Regions from separate parts of the Homo sapiens genome. Here regions 1 and 2 are each linked to region 3. The links are contacts of gene promoters, found by promoter capture Hi-C in human tissues and cell types (Jung and others, 2019). All regions are on one chromosome and are shown on one strand. The core of a region is centred on a gene start or on the middle of the fragment in contact, and the rest is flanking DNA. Distances in the headings are between cores, read along the strand shown. Region 1 overlaps FRMD5 (FERM domain containing 5). Region 2 overlaps FRMD5 (FERM domain containing 5). Region 3 holds the start of FRMD5 (FERM domain containing 5).

Region 1 (3,607 bases), core at 1,108-3,607, 150 kb before region 3:
TGGAGTGGACCTCCATCAAACTCCAGCAGGCCTGCAGAAGAGGGGCCTGGCTGTTAGAAGGAGAACTAACAGACAGAAAGGAATAGTAGCAACATCAACAAAAAGGATGGCCACTCAGAGACCCCATCTGAAGGGCACCGACTTCAAAGACCAAAGGTAGACAAATCCACAAAGATGGGGAGAAACCAGTGCAAAAAGGCTGAAAATTCCAAAAACCAGAATGTCTCTTCTCCTCCAGAGGATCACAACTCCTCGCCAGCAAGGGAAGAAAACTGGATGGAGAATGAGTTTGACGAACTGACAGAAGAGGCTTCAGAAGGCGGGTAATAACAAACTCCTCTGAACTAAAGGAGCATGTTCTAACCCAATGCAAGGAAGCTAAGAACCTTGAAAAAATGTTAGATGAATTGCTAACTAGAATAACTACTTTAGAGAAGAACATAAATGACTTGATGGAGCTGAAAAACACAGCACAAGAAGTGCATGAAGCATATACAAGCATCAATAGCCGAATCGATCAAGCAGAAGAAAGGATATCAGAGATTGAAGATGAACTCAATGAAATAAAGCAAAAGACAAGATTAGAGAAATAAGAGTGAAAAGAAAGCCCCCAAGAAATATGGGACTATGTGAGAAGACCAAATCTACATTTGATTGGTGTACCTGAAAGTAGCAGGGAGAATGGAACCAAGTTGGAAAACACTTCAGGATATTATTCAGAAGAACTTCCCCAACCTAACAAGGCATGCCAACATTCAAATTCAGGAAATACAGAGACCACCACAAAGATACTCCTCGAGAAGAGCAACCCCAAGACACATAATAGTCAGATTCACCAGGGTTGAAATGAAGGAAAAAATGTTAAGGGAAGCCAGAGAGAAAGGTCAGGTTACCCACAAATGGAAACCCATCAGACTAACAGCAGATCTCTTGACAGAAACCCTACAAGTCAGAAGACAGTGGGGGCCAATATTCAATGTTCTTAAAGAAAAAAATTTTCAACCCAGAATTTCATATCCAGCCAAATTAAGCTTCATAAGCAAAGGAGAAATAAAATATTTTACAGACAAGCAAATGTTGAGAGATTTTGTCACCACCAGGCCTGCCTTACAAGAGCTCCTGTAGGAAACACTAAACATGGAAAGGAACAACCAGTACCAGCCACTGCAAAAACATACCAAATTGTAAAGACTATCCACACTATGAAGAAACTGCATCAACTAACAGGTAAAATAACCAGCTAGCATCATAATGACAGGATCAAATTCACACATAACAATATTAACCTTAAATGTAAATGGGCTAAATGCCCCAATTAAAACACACAGACTGGCAAATTGGATAAAGAGTCAAGACCCATCAGTGTGCTGTATTCAGGAGACCCATCTCATCTGCAAAGACACACGTAGGCTCAAAATAAAGGGATGGAGGAATATTTACCAAGGAAATGGAAAGCAAAAAAAAAAAAAAAAAAAAAAAAAAAAAAAAAAAAAAAAAGCAGGGGTTGCAATCCTAGTTTCTGATAAAACAGACTTTAAATCAACAAAGACCAAAAGTGACAAAGAAGGGCGTTACATAAGGGTAAAGGGATCAATGCAACAAGAAGAGATAGCTATCCTAAATATACATGTACCCAATATAGGAGCACCCAGGTTCATAAAGCAAAGTTCTTACAGACCTACAAAGAGACTTAGACTCCCACACAATGATACTGGGAGACTTTAACACCCACTGTCAACACAAGAGAGATCAACGAGACAGAAAATTAACAAGGATATCCAGGACTTGAACTCAGCTCTGGACCAAGGAGACATCTACAGAACTCTCTACCCCAAATCAACAGAATATACATTCTGCTCAGCACCACATTGCGCTTATTCTAAAATTGACCACATAATAGACATCTACAGAACTCTCCACCCCAAATCAACAGAATATACATTCTGCTCAGCACCACATCACACTTATTCTAAAATTGACCACATAATTGGAAGTAAAACACTCCTCAGCAAATGCAAAAGAACAGAAATCATAACAAACAGTCTCTCAGACTACAGTGCAATCAAATTAGAACTCAGGATTAAGAAACTCATGCAAAATCGCACAATTACATGGAAACTGAACAACCTGCTCCTGAATGACTACTGGGTACATAATGAAATGAAGGCAGAAATAAAGATGTTCTTTGAAACGAATGAGAACAAAGACACAACGTACCAGAATCTCTGTGACACATTTAAAGCAGGGTGTAGAGGGAAATTTATAGGACTAGATGCCCACAAGAGAAAGCAGGAAAGATCTAAAATCAACACCCTACCATCACAATTAAAAGAACTAGAGAAGCAAGAGCAAACAAATTCAAAAGCTAGCAGAAGACAAGAAATAACTAAGATCAGAGCAGAACTGAGGGAGATAGAGACATGAAAAACCCCTCAAAAAAATCAATGAATCCAAGAGCTGGTTTTCTGAAAAGATCAACAACATAGATAGACTACTAGCCAGACTAATAACGAAGAAAAGAGAGAAGAATCAAATAGATGCAATAAAAAATGATAAAGGGGATATCACCACCAATCCCAAAGAAATACAAACTACCATCAGAGAATACTATAAACACCTCTAAGCAAATAAACTAGAAAATCTAGAAGAAATGGATAAATTCCGGGACACATACACCCTCCTAAGACTAAACCAGGAAGAAGTTGAATCCCTGAATAGACCAACAACAAGTTCTGAAATTGAGGCAGTAATAGCCTACCAATCAAAAAAAGTCCAGGACCAGATGGATTCACACCCGAATTCTACCAGAGGTACAAAGAAGAGCTGGTACCATTGCTTCTGAAATGATTCCAAACAATAGAAAAAGAGGAAATCCTCCCTAACTCATTTTATGAGGCCAGCATCATCCTGATACCAAAACCTGGCAGAGACACAACCAAAAAAGAAAATTTTAGGCCAATATCCCTGATGAACATCAATGCGAAAATCCTCAATAAAATACTGGCAAACTGAATCCAGCAGCACATCAAAAAGCTTATCCACCACGATCAAGTCAGCTTCATCCCTGGGATGCAAGGCTGGTTCAACATACGCAAATCAATAAACGTAATCCATCACATAAACAGAACCAATAACAAAAAGCACATGATTATCTCAATAGATGCAGAAAAGGCCTTTGACGAAATTCAACAGCCTTCATGCTAAAAACTCTCAATAAACTAGCTACTGATGGAACGTATCTCAAAATAATAAGTGCTATTTCTGGCAAGCCCACAGCCAATATAATACTGCATGGGCAAAAACTGGAAGCATTCCCTTTGAAAACCGGCACAAGACAAGGATAGCCTCTCTCACCATTCCTATTCAACATAGTATTGGAAGTTCTGGCCAGGGCAATCAGGCAAGAGAAAGAAATAAAGGGTATTCAATTAGGAAAAGAGGAAGTCAAATTGTCCCTATTTGCAGATGACATGATTGTATATTTAGAAAACCCCATCGTCTCAGCCCAAAATCTCCTTAAGCTGATAAGCAACTTCAGCAAAGTCTCAGGATAAAAAATTAATGTGCAATAATCACAACCATTCCTATACACCAATAACAGACAGAC
Region 2 (4,037 bases), core at 321-2,820, 190 kb before region 3:
TATTTAACATGTATGTATACCTATGTGTGTACATATCAGTACAAGCATACCTCATTTTATTGTGCTTCACTTTATTGTGACTCACAGATACTATGTTTTTGTTTTTGTTTTTGTTTTAATAAATTGAAGGTTTGTGGCAACCTGGCATCCAGCAAGTCTACTAGCACCATTTTTCCAATAGCACATGCACACTTCATGTCTCTGTGTCACACTTTGTTAAATCTTGCAATATTTCAAAGTTTTCCATTAATATTATTTTTTCTTACAGTGATCTGTGATCCTTAATGTTACTACTATACTTGCTTTGGGGCACCATAAGCCATGCCCATAGAAGATGGCAAACTTAACAAATGTTTTATGTGTCCTCACAGCTCCATCAACCAGCTGTTCCCCCAACTCAGTCCCTCTCTTTGGGCCTCCCTATACCCTGAGACACAACAATATTGAAATTAGCCAATTAATAACCTTTCAATGGCCTGTAAGTGTTCAAGTAAGAGGAAAAGTCACATGTCTTTAACTTTAAATCAAAAGCTAAAAATGATTATGCTTAGTGAGAAAAGCAGGTTGAAAGCTGAGATAGACTGAAAGCTAGGCTTCTTGAGCCAAATAGCCAAATTTGTAAATGCAAAGGAAGAGTTCTTGAAGGAAATTTAAAGTGCTACTCCAGTGATCACATGAATAACAGGAAAGTAAAACAGTCTTCAGGCTGATATGCAGAAAGTTTTAGTGGTCTGGATAGAAGATCACACAAGACACAGCATTCCCTTTAATCAAAGCCAAATCCAGAGCAAGGCCTTACCTCTCAATTCTGTGAAGGCTGAGAGAGATAAGAAAGCTGCACAAGACAAGTTTGAAGCTGGCAGAGGTTGGTTCATGAGGTTTAAGGAAAGAAGCCATCTGTATTAAGTCCACTCTCATACTGCTATAAAGAAATACCTGAGGCTGGGTGTGGTGGCTCATGCCTGTAATCCAGCACTTTGCGAGGCCAAGGCAGGCAGATCATCTGAAGTCAGGAGTTCGAGACCAGCCTGGCCAACATGGTGAAACCCCGTCTCTACAAAATCAGCCGGGCATGGTGGCATGTGCCTGTAATCCCAGCTACTCGGGATGCTGAGGCAGGAGAATCACTTGAACCCGGTAGGTGGAGGCTGCAGTGAGCCGAGATCACGCCATTGCACTCCAGCCTGGGCAAAAAGAGTGAAACTCCATCTCAAAAAAAAAAAAAAAAAAAAAAGAAAAAAGAAATATCTGAGAGTGGGTAATTTACAAAGAAAAGAGGTTTAATTGACTCAGTTCTGCAGGCTATAAAGGAAATACAGCGGCTTCTATTTCTTGGGAGGCCTCAGGAAACTTACAATCATGGTGGAAGGCAAAGGGGAAGCAAGGCATCTCACATGGCCGGAGCACGAGGAAAAGAGTGAGGGGAAGGTGCTACACACTTTTAAACAACCAGATCTCATGATAACTCTTATCCCAAGAACAGCACTAGGGGGATGATGCTAAACCATTCATGAGAAGCCACCCCCACCAGATCCAATCACTTCCCACCAGGCCCTACCTCCAGCACTGGGGATTATCTTTCAACATGAGATCTGGGCAGGGACACACATTCAAACCATATCACCATCTCCATAACATAAAAGTGCAAGATGAAGTAGTAAGTGCTGATACAGAAGCTGCAGCAAGTTACCCAGAAGATCTACCTGAGATCACTTATGAAGGTGGCTACAACAGATTTTCAATGTAGATTAAACAGCCTTCCACTGGAAGAAGATGCCATCTAGGACTTTCATAGATGGAGTAAAGTCAACGTCTGGCTTCAAAGCTTCAAAGGACAGGCTGACTCAGATTAAAGGATAATGCAGCTGGTGACTTTAAACTGAGGCCCAATGCTCATTTACCATTCTAAAAATCCCAGGATCTTTAAGAATTATGCTAAATATATTGTGCCTGTGCTCTATAAATGAAACAACAAAGCATGGGTGACAGTACATCTGTTTACAGCATGGTTTACAGAATATTTTCAGTTCATTGTTGAGACCTGCTGCTCAAAAAGAAAAAAAAATCCTTTCAAAATATTACTGCTCACTGACACTCTACCTGATTACCAAAGAGATCTGATGGAGATGTACAGGAGATTAATGTTGTTTTCATGCTTGCTAACATCCAGTTGGTAGCCCATGGATCAAGGAGTAATTTGCACTTTCAAGTGTTATTTTAAGAAATACATTTCATAAGACTATAGCTGCATGAATAGTGATTCCTCTGATGGATCTAGGCAAAGTAAATTGAAGAACTGAATGCCATCATTCTAGATGCCATTAAGAACATCTGTGGCTCATGGGGAGAAGTCAAATTATCAACATTAACAGGAGTTTGGAAAAAGTTGATTCCAACCCTTGATTTCAAGCTGTCAGTGGAGGAAGTAACTGCAGATGTGGTAGAGATAGCAAGAAAACTAGAATTAGAAGTTGAACCTGAAGATGTGACTGAATTGCCGCAATCTCAAGATCTTATGGATGAGCAGAGAAAGTGGTTTCTTGAGATGGAAACTACTCCTGGTGAAGATGCTGTGAACATTGTTGAAATGACAACAAAGGATTTAGAATATCCCATAAACTTAGTTGATAAAGCAGTGGCAGGATTGGAGAAGATTGACTCCAATTTTGAAAGAAGTTCTACTGTGGGTAAAATGCAGTTAAACAGCATTGCATGCTACAGAGAAATCTTTCATAAAAGGAAGAGTCCACTGATGTGCCAAACTTCATGGTTATCTTATCTTATTATAAGAAATTGTCACAGCCACCTTCAGCAGCCACCACCCTGACCAGTCAGCAGCTGTCAACATCAAGGCAGGACCTTCCACCAGCCAAAAGATTTTAACTTGCTGAAGGCTCAGGTAATTGTTACCATTTTTTTTTTTAGCAACAAAGCATTTTTAAATTAAAATATATAAATGTTTTTTTCCAGCCATAATGCTATTACACACTTGACAGACTACAGTATAGTGAAACATAACTTTTATATGCACTGGGAAACCAAAAAATCTGTGACTTGCTTTATTGCACTATCCACTTTATTGCGGTGGTCTGGAACTGATTCTGCAATATCTCCAAGGTATGCCTACATATATATAAACCTCTGCTTTTAATGATACTGTGAGGGCCTAGAATTTCATTTGGAGTTAATGTACACATTTGACAAACTTGACTGTTTTGAGAACAATGTTTTTAATCCCTCAAGTTCTCTGTCTGCTGATCAAAATGGACATTAACATCCTAACATACTTTGCATTTTCCTAGTATCTACAAGGCCAGATATTTTTATCTTTTAATTTTTTGAATTTTTAAAATCTAATTTTTTTAATTAATTAACTAATTTTTTTTTTTTTTTTTTTTTTTTTGAGACAGAGTTTCGCTCTTGTTGCCCAGGCTGGAGTGCAATGGCGTGATCTTGGCTCACCGCAACCTCCATCTCCCGGGTTCAAGTGATTCTCCTGCCTCAGCCTCCCAAGTAGCTGGGATTATAGGCATGTGCCACCACCCCGGCTAATTTTGTATTTTCAGTAGAGACGGGGTTTCTCCATGTTGGTCAGGCTGGTCTGGAATTCCCGACCTCAGGTGATCCACCCGCCTTGGCCTCCCAAAGTACTGGGATCACAGGCGTGAGCCACTGCGCCTGGCTGCTAATTTTTTTTAAAGAGATGGGGTCTTGCTCTGTTGTTGTGGCTAGAGTGCAGTGGGATGATCATGGCTCACTGCAGCCTTAACATCCTGGGCTCTAGTGATTCTCTCACTTCAGCCTACTGAGTAGGTGGGGACAATCGGCAATTTTTTTTTTTTTTTTTTTTTTTTGTAGAGATGAGGTCTCCCTATGTTGCCCAGGCTGGTCTCAAACTCCTGGACTCAGGTGACACTCCTGCCTCATTTTTCTGAAGTGCTGGGATTACAGGCATGAGCCTGTAAGGCTTTATTTCTAGAAGCCTTTATTTCATGTAGAAGGCTTTATTTTATTATTTTTTTGAGACAGAGTCTTGC
Region 3 (3,847 bases), core at 309-2,808:
GAGAAGGCTGAACTGAGCACGGAGTCAGCAGAGACCAGCTGCTCTCATACACTACCCAGTGTCTTTCTCACACACCGCTATTTTCCGCGATTGAGCACTGTCAGCAAAAATAAATAAATAAGGAGGCGGGGGGCAAGAAGACACTGAGGGTAGGACCCAGGCCGACAGTTTTTGTCTGTCACATCTGAGCCAGAAGCCTCCTCCTGTTTTCCTGCTGCAAAGGCAAAGGATCAGGTGAGACCCCTCTGGGTCCAGCTCAATTAGCTTCTCCACAAAGAGCAGCTTCCGGCGATGAGCGCAGGATCCTCCTGGCTGATGAACTAAACACGGGAGCATTGTCAATGTTTTCAATCTCTGACTTTTTCATAAGGGAGGAGAGAGGGCTGTGACTGCATTCCCGGGAAAGACTACTACTCCTGACGTGCACACAGCAGTAGCGAAGGAACATGAGCAAGAGGTTGTAAAAATCCCTTCAAAAATACCAGGTTCTGAAAGAAATGCTGTTGAGCATTACCGTATTGTTGGCGTTTTTCCTAAGTCGCCGATTCTTCCTGGCCACTTCCAAGCCCCAAATCGCTGGGACTTGTTGCTAAATCTTTACCTCACGTCCCCTAGAACCGCCCAACACAATAAAATTTGGGGATCAAAAGGCGGGAGGGGGCCTAAATCTCTAAAACCCAGAGGACTGGGCTTCCTTCAATAGGCCACTCCGCATGGGCTGCGCGTTCAGTTCTACCTTCTGAAAGCTCTGACTCACAAATGGTGGGGGGAGGAATTATGACATAAACCATTATCCTTCCAACCCAAGAAAGATAAGAAAAGCCAGCCATACGTCCTTGCCCGGGCAGAGAGCCAAAGCCTGCGCCCCCGACGGGGCGGCCGGGCTAGGAGCCTACCGCCCTACCCGCCTCCCTCCGGGCGCCCCGGAAAGGTGCACCTTACTCGGGCGGGCTCGAGGAACCAGGACGGGGCGCCCTCACCCAGGGAGAGCAGGGTAGGACTTAGGGGTGTGGGACGCGGAGACTCGCCCCGCGGCGGCGGTGACACACCGGGTGCCAGGGCTCCGGCAGGGGCTCCGGTGAAGACGCCCTGCACTAGGGCGGTCCGCCGCAACCAGGAACGGACAAAGCACGGCGCTGGGGCTGGGGCGACCCCTGGGCGGCGGCCGCCGCCGGCCAAGTTGACCAGACTTGGGGGACAAGGGGGTCCCGCGGGCGGGGCGGGGCGGCGCGGCGCTGACCTGGATGGTGCAGGTGTACTCGCTGTCGTCCAGCAGCCGCACGGTGCAGCTGTACTCGCGCTCCAGGCTCCTGCTGCTGCCGCTCATCAACCTGCTCAGCATCTTCCCGCCCGCCCGCCCGGGAGCGACGCGGCGGCGCTGCGGACCCTGGACCAGGCGTCCCTCAGCCCGGCAGCTCCGCACCGACCCCAGGCACCTGCACCATCACCCCGGCCCCGTCGCTGCCGTTGCCTCCTGCTGGCCTCGTTCCTCCTCCTTATCCTCCTCCTTCCCTCAGCCGCCACCGCCTCCCCCCAGCCCAGATCAAGCGCCGGGCTCTGTCTCCTCGGCGCCCCAGTGCCCGTGCCCAGCTCGCGGGGCGGGGCCTCAACTGGAGGGGGCCAATGGGGGTCAGCGCGGCGGAACCGAGTGGCAGACCGAAAAGCCAATCGAGATAGAGTACTGGGATGATGGGCGGGATAAAGAAGCAATCACAGAAAAGCAGTCGGACCTAGTCAAGCCGGAGCAGCCCTCTAGCGTCCCAAACGAGGGGTTCCTCTCCGCCCCGTGGTTCCTATGGATGCTGTTTCCCCTCCCCCGGGCCAGGTGTGAGCACCCAACTGGATTGATGTCTGCCGCCTGAAATACACTTGATCTGCGTTTCCGAAGCCAAGCCTCGCACCCTGCAACACCGCGGTTCCCGCCCTCTTGGGAGCCGGAGCGAGGAGGCGGCAGGGTGCTGGATCACAGTCCCTGCACCTGCAGAATGCGGATACCTCTCGCTCCAGATAGGGCGACTGCCCCCGACCTGTGCTGTACCCTAAGTTGGCCCGTCTGGCCTCTGTGCTCCAGCCCTCTTATTTTGGGAAACAGGAGCTACTTAAATAAAAGCTAAAGGGACCTCAGAGGTTCTGAAGTACCCAGGTTTAATCCCCTAAAAAACCCTCCACTCTAACACCCTTTGCCTCCTTTTTATTTCAGAAGACAAAAGGAGACTGCTCCTTCAGCTGGTAGGGAGCAGAGGAAGCAATGAATCTTCTCCTTGCACTTTTAGAACTGGAAATTATGTCTTCAGACTTTCTCAATAGAACAACATAGTATGTCAGGAGGTATACATCACAAAGAATTGTCTCCTTCTCTTTGTCACCCCAAATTTACAGACTTCAAGGTTTTTTACCAGAACTTCAATAAGAGATATTCTCCCTCAAAGATTTTTGATGTGAGGAAATGTTATAAAATAATTATGTCGGCCGGGCGCAGTGGCTCAAGCCTGTAATCCCAGCACTTTGGGAGGCCGAGGCGGGCGGATCACCTGATGTCAGGAGTTCGAAACCAGCCTGACCAACATGGTGAATCCCCGTCTCTACTAAAAATACAAAAAAATTAGCCGTGCATGGTAGCACGCACCTGTAATCCCAGCTACTCGGGAGGCTGAGGCAGGAGAATCGCTTGAACCCAGGAGGCAGAGGTTGCAGTGAACCAAGATCACGGCCATTGCACTCCAGCCTGGGGGACAAGAGCAAGCCACCGTCTCAAAAAAAAAAAATAATCGTGTCAACATAGAACATTAATGCTGTAATAAATATATTAATTTAAAATAATGAAATAGGCATAATTTCCTATTACTTTCATTTGCACTGTTCTTGTTTATAGGTATAATGTGTAACAAAAATGAAACTCTACATTAGCCTAGAAAACTATCCCGCCTTTAAAGTATGCTTCTTCCCTAGTGTCTTTGGATTCCAATATTTTCCCCAATTTTTTTTTTTTTTTTTGCATGGGGAGATTCATTCTCTTTCATTCTCTCTCTCTCTCTCTCTTTCTCTCTCTCTCTCTCTCTCTCTTCCTCCCCCTCTCCCTCCCCCTTTTTCTTTCTATCACCTTAGTAACCTGGACTGCTCTTAATTGGTTGCATTCTCCTTTGTGGCATTTAATAGCCATAGGAGCAGGATTCTCTTTTCAATGCAATTTGGATGGAGTTAGTTATGAGTCTAGAACTAGTAAGTCAAGTGTTCCAGGCATAAAACCAGGCATGCGCTCCACTACTTTGTAGCTTCAGCAGGTAGTCTGATGCCTGAAACATAATAGGTATTCAATAAGTGTTGAACTGAATACAAAAATTAGCCGGGTGTGGTGGCATGCGCCCGTGGTCCCAGCTACTGGGGAGGCTGAGGCAGGAGAATCGCTGGAACCCGGGAGGTAGAGATTGCAGTGAGCTGAGATTGTGCCACTGCACTCCAGCCTGGGCAACAGAGCAAGACTCGGTCTAAAAAAAAAAAAATTGATGAACTGAAGTAAATGGAATTGACAGGTGTTCTACAGCACTTAAATCCCAGAGGAAGAAGACCTGTGAAGAAACTCAAAATTTCAGGAAGATCTTGGAGACAAGTAAAATTATTAATATGCCAAAGTGATATTCTACAAAGCTCAGCTTTGTTATGTAGCTGTAAGAAGATAATGAAATATTTCAGGCTGGGCGCAGTGGCTCACACCTGTAATCCCAGTACTTTAGGAGGCCGAGGTGGGTGGATCACGAGGTCAGGAGTTCAAGACCAGCCTGGCCATCATGGTGAAACCCTGTCTCTACTGAAAATACAAAAATGAGCCGGGCATGGTGGCATGTGTCTG

What was found. The method cuts DNA at HindIII sites, captures the fragments that hold promoters and counts their contacts. A contact is called where the count stands out against the background at its distance.
Region 1: a contact is called between a fragment that was not itself captured here and the fragment with the promoter of FRMD5 in region 3, in 1 of the 25 tissues and cell types used here (H1 embryonic stem cells).
Region 2: a fragment that was not itself captured here is called in contact with the fragment with the promoter of FRMD5 in region 3 in 1 of the 25 tissues and cell types used here (dorsolateral prefrontal cortex).

The regions. Positions count from the first base shown.
Region 1 is chr15:44,039,537-44,043,143 of GRCh38, forward strand. The region is part of intron 1 of FRMD5 (FERM domain containing 5); the gene reads right to left. Among named protein-coding and RNA genes, the nearest start is that of FRMD5, 150 kb to the right of the region's middle. The HindIII fragment of the contact is 3,758 bases long and covers 479-3,607 here.
Region 2 is chr15:44,004,260-44,008,296 of GRCh38, forward strand. All of the region lies in intron 1 of FRMD5 (FERM domain containing 5), which reads right to left. Among named protein-coding and RNA genes, the nearest start is that of WDR76, 180 kb to the left of the region's middle. The HindIII fragment of the contact is 6,821 bases long and covers 1-4,037 here.
Region 3 is chr15:44,193,713-44,197,559 of GRCh38, forward strand. FRMD5 (FERM domain containing 5) reads right to left here and starts at 1,559. Exons shown (of 14, transcript NM_032892.5): 1 at 1,241-1,559. The coding sequence starts at 1,342. RefSeq lists silencers at 890-949, 1,060-1,109, 3,344-3,579 and enhancers at 1,443-1,944, 1,945-2,444, 1,960-2,059. The HindIII fragment of the contact is 20,453 bases long and covers 1-3,847 here.